Linked DNA regions of Homo sapiens: region 1 is linked to region 2. Evidence: promoter capture Hi-C in 16 types of primary human blood cells and fetal thymus (Javierre and others, 2016). All regions are on one chromosome and are shown on one strand. The core of a region is centred on a gene start or on the middle of the fragment in contact, and the rest is flanking DNA. Distances in the headings are between cores, read along the strand shown.

Evidence for each region. Contacts are between HindIII fragments. The CHiCAGO score rates a contact against its expected background, and 5 or more counts as called.
Region 1: a contact is called between the fragment with the promoter of CR1L here and the fragment with the promoter of C4BPA in region 2, in 16 of 17 cell types (total CD4 T cells, M2 macrophages, erythroblasts and 13 more). The highest score is 16.4, in total CD4 T cells.

The regions. Positions count from the first base shown.
Region 1 is chr1:207,643,729-207,649,044 of GRCh38, reverse strand. It overlaps CR1L (complement C3b/C4b receptor 1 like), which reads right to left and starts at 3,912. Exons shown (of 12, transcript NM_175710.2): 1 at 3,715-3,912. The coding sequence starts at 3,811. It also overlaps the pseudogene CD46P1. RefSeq lists an enhancer at 3,803-3,882 and a silencer at 3,943-4,112. The HindIII fragment of the contact is 2,525 bases long and covers 3,523-5,316 here.
Region 2 is chr1:207,100,521-207,106,057 of GRCh38, reverse strand. It overlaps C4BPA (complement component 4 binding protein alpha), which reads right to left and starts at 1,825. Exons shown (of 12, transcript NM_000715.4): 1 at 1,628-1,825. The HindIII fragment of the contact is 2,080 bases long and covers 1,601-3,680 here.

The DNA.
Region 1 (5,316 bases), core at 2,663-5,162, 540 kb before region 2:
TAACAAGGCCGACTCCATTCATCCATGTGGCCACAACACCCAGCACAATATGTCCCTCATAGTAGCTATTTGAAAAAAATTTGGTACTCAAAGTCCACTGCTGTCAAACACAAAACAATGTGAAGAATATATTGTAATCAATTTCATATTGAAAATAATCATTCTACAGAACAATGGAGAAAGAAGATTTAGCCATTTCTTGTGCTGCCTATCTCCCAGTCTTCTGGTATCCTGGCAGGTGACCAGATATGGACTGCTCTTTTTGCATTGTAGTATGCCGAGTGAGGAAACTAAGAAGCAATAAGAACTTACTGGTCTTGGCTTCTTTCATTGAAAATAAGGAAAACACCTGAAATAGGCAGAAGAGACCACACACAACAGGAGATCGGGGGTTTTGTCCAAAAAAGCAGCTCCTCTTCTGGAGGAATGAATGAGACTGGCCTGAAATTTGACACATGTTTCCTTCTGCTATCTGGAACCATTTGGCAACTACCTTTGAGAGGGCAGGTCTCCCATGCACAGCACCACCTGCTTACAAAACCTTATCTTTGTGAGAGTGAGTTGCTCCAAAAATTGAATGTTTATTTTAATTCATGTATTCTCTCTGCCTAGCATCGTGAGTTCTCATTTTTACTTTCTCTAGGTTTCATACCTGTCTTGATTTAACCCTATCAACCTCAAACTTAACCTTATTTTTCCTTCTCTTCATTTTTAGTTTTGTTATCTTCCATGTTGCACCCTATTCATTTTATAATTCTATGTTCCTCTATTTCAAATTGCTTTCATTATCTTCTTCAACTTCCAGGTTTTTTTTTTTTTTCTGTGTGTGTGTGTGTGTCTGTGTGTGTGTGTGTGTGTGTGTGTGTGTGTTTGAGACCGGGTCTCACTCTGTCACCCAAGCTGGAGTGCAGTGGTATGATTAGGGCTCACTGCAGCCTTGACCATGGGGGCTCCAGTGATCCTCCCCCTTCACGCCCTTCAGCCTCCCAAGTAGCTGGGACCACAGGCATGCAACATCACACCTGGCTAATTTTTTGTTTTTAATATTCTGTAGAGGTGGGCTCTCCTTATGATGCCCAGGCTGTATGTACTTCTAGTACTAAGCCTATTCTAAACATTAATCTTTAAAAAGAAAAAAAAGTCCTTTCGTTTTCTTCTTAACACCACTGCTCCCTAATCCCATCACCCTCCTTCAAAATGAACGTTTTAATGATCAGTGAGATGCAAGACTGAAGTACTGGAAGCCCTGCAGAGTCAACATAAACAGGGGAGACAGATCCTTTCTGGCCCTCAGCTGCTGCTGCCCTAGCTTTTTAGGTACAACAGAAAGACCATCCTGAGCATAGCTCTTTAAAGAACCTTCCTCTTGGAGGCAGGAGGGACTTTTTCCTAGGCTCTAAGCCCCAGCCAAATAGTATATTTAATTTTCTGATATTTAACAGATGTCTATATGGATACTGAGTTAGGGTTCATACAGAAGCAAACAAATGGGGCTTTTGGAACCACAAATGGGGGAAGACAGAAGATTCCTGCATTCTGATGGGGAGAGACAGAGAACAGAAAAGATCACTTTAAAAGGGTGATTACAAGAGGTACTTGAACTGGGTTGTATGTGTTCAACCTGAGTTGGGGGGTTCCAAGAAGGTCTCTGAAGCGGTAACATTCCAGCTGAGCTTGCAGAAGAAACAGCCCATTTATGCAGCAGGTCATGGGGAGAACGTTCCAGGACTGAGGGAACAGAAAGCACAGATGCCCCAAAGTGGCAGAGTTTTGTCTGTTTGATGAGAAGCAAAGCCTTCCCTCCCCCCAGTCATTTGTTAAATGCTGTCAGAAAATTATACTCCTTTCCTCCAGAACACTTCCCTGGTTAATATATTTGTTACTATTATGTTTTGGTTAATGTCTGCCACTCCCAATACATTTTAGCAAACATCTGTTGATTGCCTACTGTGTTCCCGGCATTAAGCACTTAACAATGAGCAAAAAAAGTCCCTGCTTATCTTCCTGCATGTACGTGTGTGTAAACAAATAGTAAAAAAAGGATAAAGAAAATAGGAATTGTCTGTTATTACCTACTAGTGTAACAGCACCAGACATACAAGACCCATATTTGTTGAATGAATGTTCCTAAGAGAAGAAATGCAACGTACAATCTGTACATGGAATAAGATCCTAAATATAATTTGGACATAGATACACATGAAACACAATAAAGTCAGAAGGAAATATAACAAAATATTAAAAACAGTTGTCCTTTTATTTTGTTCATTTTGCACAATAAGCCTGTATTTAAGCATGTATTTTTTGGCTTTTTTTTTTTTTTTTTTTTTTTTTGAGACAGGGTCTCACACTGTCATCCAGGCTGGAGTGCAGTGGCATGATCACAGCTCACTGCAGTCTTCTCCTCCTGGGCTCAAGCGATCCTCCCACCTCAGCCTCTGGAGTAGTTGGGACCACGGGCATACACCACCATGCCCATCTAATTTTTTTATTTTTTGTAGACATGGGGTTTTGACATGTTGTCCAGGCTGATCTTGAACTCCTGGGCTTAAGCAATCACCCAACTTGGGCCTCCCAAAGTGCTGGGATCACAGGTGTGAGCAACTGGGCCTGGCCTAGCATGCATTTTTAAAAATATTGATTCCATTCAATGAAATACAAAACAGTGGGATAGGCCTTAAGCTTCAGTTTATGAGCTGTAGGGGAAAACAAGATTAACATTATCTGCCTTCCTTTGTTAGGATACTAATTTCTCACTAGGTTTGGCTACCAGTGTTTTTTAGGTTGCTTCACATCTCTCAAATATGACTCAAACTAATGAAAAGAAGGAAAACAATGTCAAAAAGCCACTAGGCAATGGAATCAGATACTGTCTATATTGGTTGGGAACAGGAAGATGACTCGATGGCCCACCCACCCCCCAAAAAAGCAGCCACTTAAAATTCAAGACCAATACGATCTCAGGCAACACGGACACTGTTCACAGAAGGCACTAAAAGCATGGTGCGCCCTTACCACCTCTCTAACCCCAGGCACTGAGAGCCTGCTCTCACTCAACATGCCCTCCCTAGCCGCAGAGTCCGCGCTCGCTCCACTCAAAGCAAACAGTGAGCTGTCTTGCCCACAGTGAACTCCGCACACAGGCCACTTGCGCACAGCACGCTCCCAGCAACACCTGGCCAGGCCCCTGCTCGCCCAGCCCAGCCCAGGCCAGCCCAGCCCATGGGGCACAGCAGACGCACTGCAACCCTTACCGCGGGTACTGTCCAAGCCCTAATGAACACCCTACTCACCAAGGCACCAAGGGAACACAGGGCAAACTCTCACCACGGGCACAGCACGGGCTCTAGCAACAATCCCACGCACCTGTGCACTCCAGAGCAAGCCCTCACCTGGGGCGCCCAGTAAGCCCTCCCCTTGCTGACTGGGCTCAATCCCGAAAACACGATTCACGCTTCTTTTGGGAACGCAGCCAGATCCTGCGTAAATGTCGGCCGCGCACACGATGCCACCAAACAAGCTTCTGCGTGGTTCCCGCATCCCCCGCCACATACCCCCGGGATCTGAGCACGGCACCCCTCGGAGAACCCTGGCCTCGCTCTCTATCCCAAGCAGGCACGACGTGCAGTGAGCTTCGCCCCGCGCCTCCTGCCCGACTGACTGAGCAGAGCTCTAGCCTCGCCGCGGACGCGCGAATCCACCCCGGGGTCCTACCGGAGAAGGAGGACAGCAGCAACACCAGGGCCGCCAGAAGCAACCCAGGAAAGCGCCGGGAAGGAAAGGGACGCTCGAGACGGACGGGAGGCGCCATGAGCGGCGCGGGAGACCCCGTGATTTATCCGGAGGTGAGCAGAGAAACCGAAAGCCAGCCGAGCAGGGAAGTCCCTTCTGAGTCCGGTTAGTGGACACAACAATCCCCAAACTCACAGTTTCCAGGGCCGCATGACAGGTGGGCGTGGCCTGGGCGCGTAGTGTGAAATTGAGTCTTAGCGCCGGGGCGGCTGGGGCCAATCGGCGGGCCGCGGGGCGGGGCCTCGGCGCGCAGGGGCAGCCCGTTGGCCTTCGAGGAGACAGGGCGTGTCCAGAGCCCTGGCAGGGGGTTATCGTGGGCTAGCACCCCTCAGGGTTAGTTTTATCCTGGGGCACTGCAGGCTGTCAGGACTGCCTGGGCCCTTACTTGGTATTTGGCATTAGTCAGGCATTATTGGGAACAATATTTGAGTTTTTCTTGCTTGAATGCCTGCTACTGAATCGTCTCGGCGCCGTCTTCTTTTCACAGTCTCAAAGGTTTGGCTTCTGCACTCCCAGCCCCTAAGATAATTTGCCCTTTGCTCCCCTCCCTGGAGAGGACCCGTCAGAATCTAAATTATTAAGCAACACCAGGCCGTTAGCATATTGAGACTCTATGGGACCCTTGCCCTTGAGCAACTAAATGTTTTATTGAAGACGAAATATACATGCATGAACAATGTAAGGACAAGGGTGTCCTAAGTGCCAAATTCCTGGAAGCAATAAATGCAGGAGGATTGGGATGGGTAGAAATTGTTAGGCGAAGTGGATAAGGGGGAGAACTTTTCTGGTGAAACAATCTCAGGAACAATGTTGGAAAATTAAGAATGAGCAGGATTGATTTGTAGGGTTCTGAGTAAGCCAGTATGACTGGTAAAAGGGGGAAAAAAAAAGGGAACATGACTGGCATTAAAAGAGCAAACAAAAAAAGTTGACATCTCTTCCCCTCAGATTGGCAAAGAATTAAAACGTCAGCCAATGTGAGTGAACATGTTGCAGGGGGACCAGCACTCTGTTTGTAACATAACTTTTCAGAATGTTAAAAGTCTTAAAGTGGAAATGACTTGTGTTAGGCTCTCAGTTCCCAGAGAAATCATCAGAGCTGTGATCAAAGATTTATAATTTTTGTAAAAAATGTAAACCCTAAGTGTCTAGCAAAAGTAATAAGGAGGCAGTTACCTTTGTGTGATGGAATTCTATGCAGCAAGTATTGCAAAAGAATACCAAATGTGAGAAACTATGATATCATTGTAAGTGGAAAAAGCAGAGTCCAAATTGGCATGTGCATTTTGGCAGTCCTTTTATTAAAACAAAAATGCTATATATATATATATATATATACATACACTAATTTGGAACACAACAAAATTAACAATGGTTAAGATTATAGATATTTCACTTTCCTTGTGCTTTTCAGTTTTCTTTTTCTATGTTGACCCTATGTTACATTTAGAATAAGGTAAAGAAAATGTATTTTAAAAATCAAATCTATGTATCAATTGTTGTTTTGTTCATAGAATTATGGGA
Region 2 (5,537 bases), core at 576-3,075:
TTGGATATCAGTTCCCTCCATCTCTAAAATAATGACATTAAACCTAGATGAACAAATTCTGCAATTCTGTAACTGCTCACTGAAAAGCTGAGACTACTCTAGCCAACTTTCATATTTCAAGGACTTCACCTTTTAAATTCCTGCAGAAATGGAACCAACTCAAGAACTTTAGTCAGCATGGCGGGTCCCTTGTGAAAAATAATATCAGCACTTAGCAATGCAGTGCAATTTGAGAGTCACTGGAAAAATCTTTAGTCCTCAAATTTCTCCTTCCATGAGAAGTTACTTTTTAAGTTAATATTTATTTTGTCTAACTTCCCCCTTTTAAAATGCAGATACCTTGTGAAAGGATAGTATTTTTCTCCAGTCTCGGGCTGAGTGTCTTCTTCCTTATACCTGGGCTCTCAATTATATCACTTACAAACTCCAGAAAGAACTGGCTCCCACACTTTCCCCACCCTTCCTAGAATCTCTTTTTTTTTTCTTTTTTTTTTTTTTTTGAGGTGGAGTTTCACTCTTGTTGCCCAGACTAGAGTGCAATGGCACGATCTCAGCTCACCCCAACCTCTGCCTCCCTGGTTCAAATGATCCTCCTGCCTCAGCCTCCCAAGTAGCTGGGATTACAGACATGTGCCACCATGCCTGGCTAATTTTGTAATTTTAGTAGAGACAGGGGTTCTCCATGTTGGTCAGGCTGGTCTCGAACTCCCGACCTCAGGTGATCCGCCAGCCTCGGCCTCCCAAAGTGCTGGGATTACAGGAGTGAGCCACCGTACCTGGCCAAATCTCTTTATTTTTCTATCAGCCCCTTTATTCTGTGCTCATACTACATTCAAACATATCTCTAAGCTTAATGCCAACCTTCTTTGATGCTTCTGCCTCTTCTGTAGTCTACTTTTTATTCTTTTGGTGTTACCATATTTAGAGATAGAATAGGAATCAGCAAAGAGACAAGTGGTTGAAGAATTAAAATGAGGACCAGAATGGTACTGTATCCTGGCCAACCAAGGAAGAAGAGAATTTCAAGAAGGAAGGGTTATCAGCATCGTCAAATTCAGAAAGTAAAGAAGATGAGGACGACTAAGACTGCTAGCTTCAGAAACCAACTGGAGGCTGGCCAGTGTCCTCCTTATTACCAAATCTAAACATCTTTGCTGTCAGTGGTGGAGGAGATTTGGAGTGGTTAATCAAATCTCAAAATAGAAATGGCCCCAGTTTTCAGAATGTAGACTAAGAAAAGCAAGCTTCCTGTGAACCCTTTGAAAAGTCTGATTGACCCCTTGCCTCAACTCTGATGTGGGAAGGTGGTGAAAGATCAACAAACCAACACATCTGTCTTTTAGATACAGTAACAAGAGCAACACCTTACACCTCTTCTTCTTTAGCTTATTTTATTAGAATGCAATATTATTCCTCCATTTATAATTTTTAAAACTTGAGGTTCAGATAGGGTTTAAAGTACGTCTCAAGTCTTACATCCCCCTAATACAGTGCTCCTGAAAAGATTTCTGCTGAAAACACCTCCAAGCTTTTGTCTCTGTTTTATCCTTCTAATCCTGCACTCCTTAAAGGGCCAAACCACCAGCCTTTCCTCCAAGCTTCCCCAAGGGTTTAGTAGTCCACCGACCTTTGGTAGTTGAGGAAGAGCAGAAGACTCTATGATGATATCTGGGATAGTTTCTCAAAGAAGAAAACTGCCTTGATCTATGTAGTCCTGGTTCCTCCCCAGATCAGAGTTTATCATAATACCCTGAAGTTGACTGGTAATTGCTCCACCAAAGAGTCCCTGAATTTCAGCCATGTGGTTGGCTGGTCAAGGACGGTTGATGGAAATAGATGGGCAGAAACTTTTGACGGGCCCAATGAATGATTAACAGCAGAAATAAAGCAGCACTGTTTACCTAAGCTCCTTCCTCTTTGCTAGTCCTCATTCTTCGTAACATGTCGCAATCGTTTATTTTCTCCTCTGCCAACCATTTCCCCTAAGTGGAAAGGTAATTTGAATTTGAAGCCAGAATTCTTTTTTCTTTTCATAAACACATAAGGGTTATGGCAAGACACAGTCCAGCTAGCCTGGAAACCTTGGATACTGCGAGGTTCAGAGAGCCTCCGCAAAAATGATCCACTTTCCATGACACTAGGTCCAGTATGCTTTCCTGGAGTTTGAAAACTGATATTCTTGCCCAGAGCTCGTCTCTATCCCACCCCAAGGAATTACAAAAGGTGGGGAATTTATCAAACATGCATTGGGTTTCCACTATGTGCTGAGTTATCTAGAACGTATTTGGAGTTCAGCAAATGTTAACTGCTACTACATGTCAGGCACCAGAGGGCCTCCAAAAATTGATCTATCCAGTGCGCTCAGAAGAACGCAATGAAGGACCGGCCATGTTTCCTCTCGCATAGATCTAAAAAGACCACAAGCACTTACATAGTCCAATTAAGCTACTAATCCTCAAGGTTAAGATTTGTGTGCTCAGAAGATTGCTATTAAAAGGCAATTCTTTCTGAGAACTTCACTTTTTCTGTAATAAATACTGAAAGTCCCAGAAGAGTTTCAGAAAAGGAACTAAACTACAACAGGTTGAGTTAATCAAGGAAGTTTCTACAGAAGATGTGAGATTTGGATAAAAGGTAGAAATTATTAGATAAAAGTGGTAAGGATATTAGATGTAAAGAAACCATGCGCTAGGTCACCAAGGTGAGACACTGATTTGACCAGAATGAAGATAGAGGAGGATTCCAGATTGCACAGTCTTGAGACTAAATTGGAAGAAATATCACCTTTAAAGCTGCTATTTCTTTAAAGTACCGTTTTCCAATGTATTGAAGTCCTTTCGTTTACTTTCCACAGTGACTCTTGCAGATTTTTCTCTCCAGGTCACCAAATTGTCACATTCCCTCTCAGCAGATGCTCTTACCTCCTACTTTACTAAAAATCATTCTACCTTAGCTTCATCAATGTCAAATTTTCCCTCCTATTCACTCCTCATTCCGAGGAGAATTGTTTCTTCTTTTCCTGCCTCATTTTCAATGCATCTCTCATCCTGAAATGTCCCTTCAATTTTGCCAATACCTCAAATTCCACCTTTCTTCTTTAGTGTGATGCTGAACTTCTCAAAGGTGTGACTTGTTCTACCTGCCTGTTCTTTCTCATTCATCACTCCACCTGTTGCTTTCCCATCTGGCTTCTACCACTCTTCTACTGACATGTCTCTCTGAGGCACGCCCTTAGGTCCAAGTCCAAAATATCTTTAATTCATTTCTTAGGATCTGTCTGCAGCCTTTGTCACTGCTGATCATTTCCTTTCTGAAACTCTCTTCTCCTTTGGCTTCCATGACACTAAACTTACCTGATTCCCTTAACTTAACTAATTTCTCTTTCTTAGTTACTGTTACCTTCTCTTCCTCCTTCTCATTCCTAAATATAGATATATCTCAGGCTCTTCTTTTTTTAAAAAAATTATCTTCGCAATTTTAATGATCTTGCCTTCTGTCACAGCTTTAACTATTACCAGTAAGAAGACTAGCCAGCACTACATTATTATTTCTGATTACTCTCCGAAACTCAAGACTTACTTTCTTAGGTTTTGTTTTTTTTTTCCCCCCACTGGACATCTTGCAAGCACTTCACCCTCAGCACATCCAAAGAGGAATTTCTCATTTCCGGCCAACAAGCTTCACTTTCTGACCCCAGCTTTTTCTGACCTCTGGTTCTCGGGAATAAAATTTCAGATTCACTTTTGAACTCTTCCTCTCCCTCACCCTTCAATGTTTGATTAGTTGACAGGTTGTTTTGATACAAGTTTTCAATATCTCTCGTGTCTGCTGCTGCTTTTTCATTTCTGCTGCCACCAAACCAGTTCAGGTTGATAATGCCTCCCATATGGACTATTGTAGGAGTCCTTTCGTTGGTTTCTCTTAGTTCTTTTCCCTCATCAACCAATACTACAACCAACATTGTGAGAGAAATCTTTCTTTATGTTCTGTCCTTATTACTTCATTGTTTGCAAGGCTTCCATGTCTTCATGGTCTGACTGCCAAAAAACAAATGTATATTCTCTGCCTACCAAAAACAAGTGTATATTCTCTAGCACGTCATTCAAAAGCCTCCATAAACTGGCTTTGACTTATCTTTCCAGCCACCTTCTCTCTCACCAATTTCCATGCTTCATCTAGGCCAGTCCAGGCTATGTGCAAGTTCCTAAACATATCCCATTTTTTCTGCCTCTGTGCAATGCCTTCTAAAATTATTATTAGAAATTCATTTTACAACATTAAAAAGTTTTAAGAGAATAAACACTTATAATTTCATATTCTAAGACAAATGTTTTTATCTGTGCCTATTATTGTCTAATCCTTTCCCACAAGAATAAAGGTTTTACATAAATGCAATCATAAGCCCTTGTTATTAAATATTCTATTTTTACTTAAGATTGTATTTTTAAGATTTTCTACTTCCTCATATTTATCACCATATAGGTCTGCATTACATTTAAAGTACCATAATTTATTCAAAATTTTCCTAAGAGTAGACATTTCAAATGCTCATAAGATCCTCCTAGATAGATAATATGTACAAATAAGAAGTAGCTTCAATTTCAAATCATTTTCCTCCAGTTAGATTAATCCTAGGAATGAATTTACTTGGTTAAAAATCTTATTATTGGCCAGGCGTGGTAGCTCATGCTTGTAATCCCAGCACTTTGGGAGGCCGAGGCGGGCAGATCACCTGAGGTCAGGAGTTCGAGACAGCCTGACCAACATAGGGAAACCCCGTCTCTACTAAAAATACAAAATTAGCCGGGCATGGTGGCGCATGCCTGTAATCCCAGCTACTCAGGAGGCAGAGGCAGGAGAATCGCTTGAACCCAGGAGGCAGAGGTTGTGGTGAGCTGAGATCACGCCATTGCACTCTAGCCTGGGCAACAAGAGCGAAACTCCATCTCAAAAAAAAAAATTGGTTTTAAATCTTATTATTGTCTTACTCCATTTCTCAAATATTCTTTCCAACTGGAATGAGCTCTTTAATCTTTGTCTCTAATTCTCACTTACTTTTGAAGGCCCAAATAACTGTGACTTCTTCCTTGACAATATTCCTGCCTCCTCCTCCCAGACAGAAGTGAACCTCCTCTCATCTGAGCTCTCATAGCCCACTGTTGTCTGAAAATGTTTAGTTCATTCTAACCACTCTAAAATAATGCTACGTGTGTACATGTCTTGTGCCTATTAGTAGACTCTGGGGTACTCAAGAGTCCATCTCTTATTCCCCTTCATAACTTTACCTAGCGATTTTCCATTATTTCAAGCTGGCTTATATATTTTGGTTGCACTTTATCTAGATATCCTACGTGTTTCAGGTAGCAGTCAGGACGAGAGGTGGGAGAAGCTTGTCATGCCAGCTCAGTATGACATTTTGATTGAAAGCCTTAGGATTCTTATTTCTTCTACCCTCTAAAAAAGGAGAATTGTAAGTAAAAAATAATATAAAATTTTTGTTTCTAAAAAAGAGAAGAAATATATTCACTTGTGTTGCA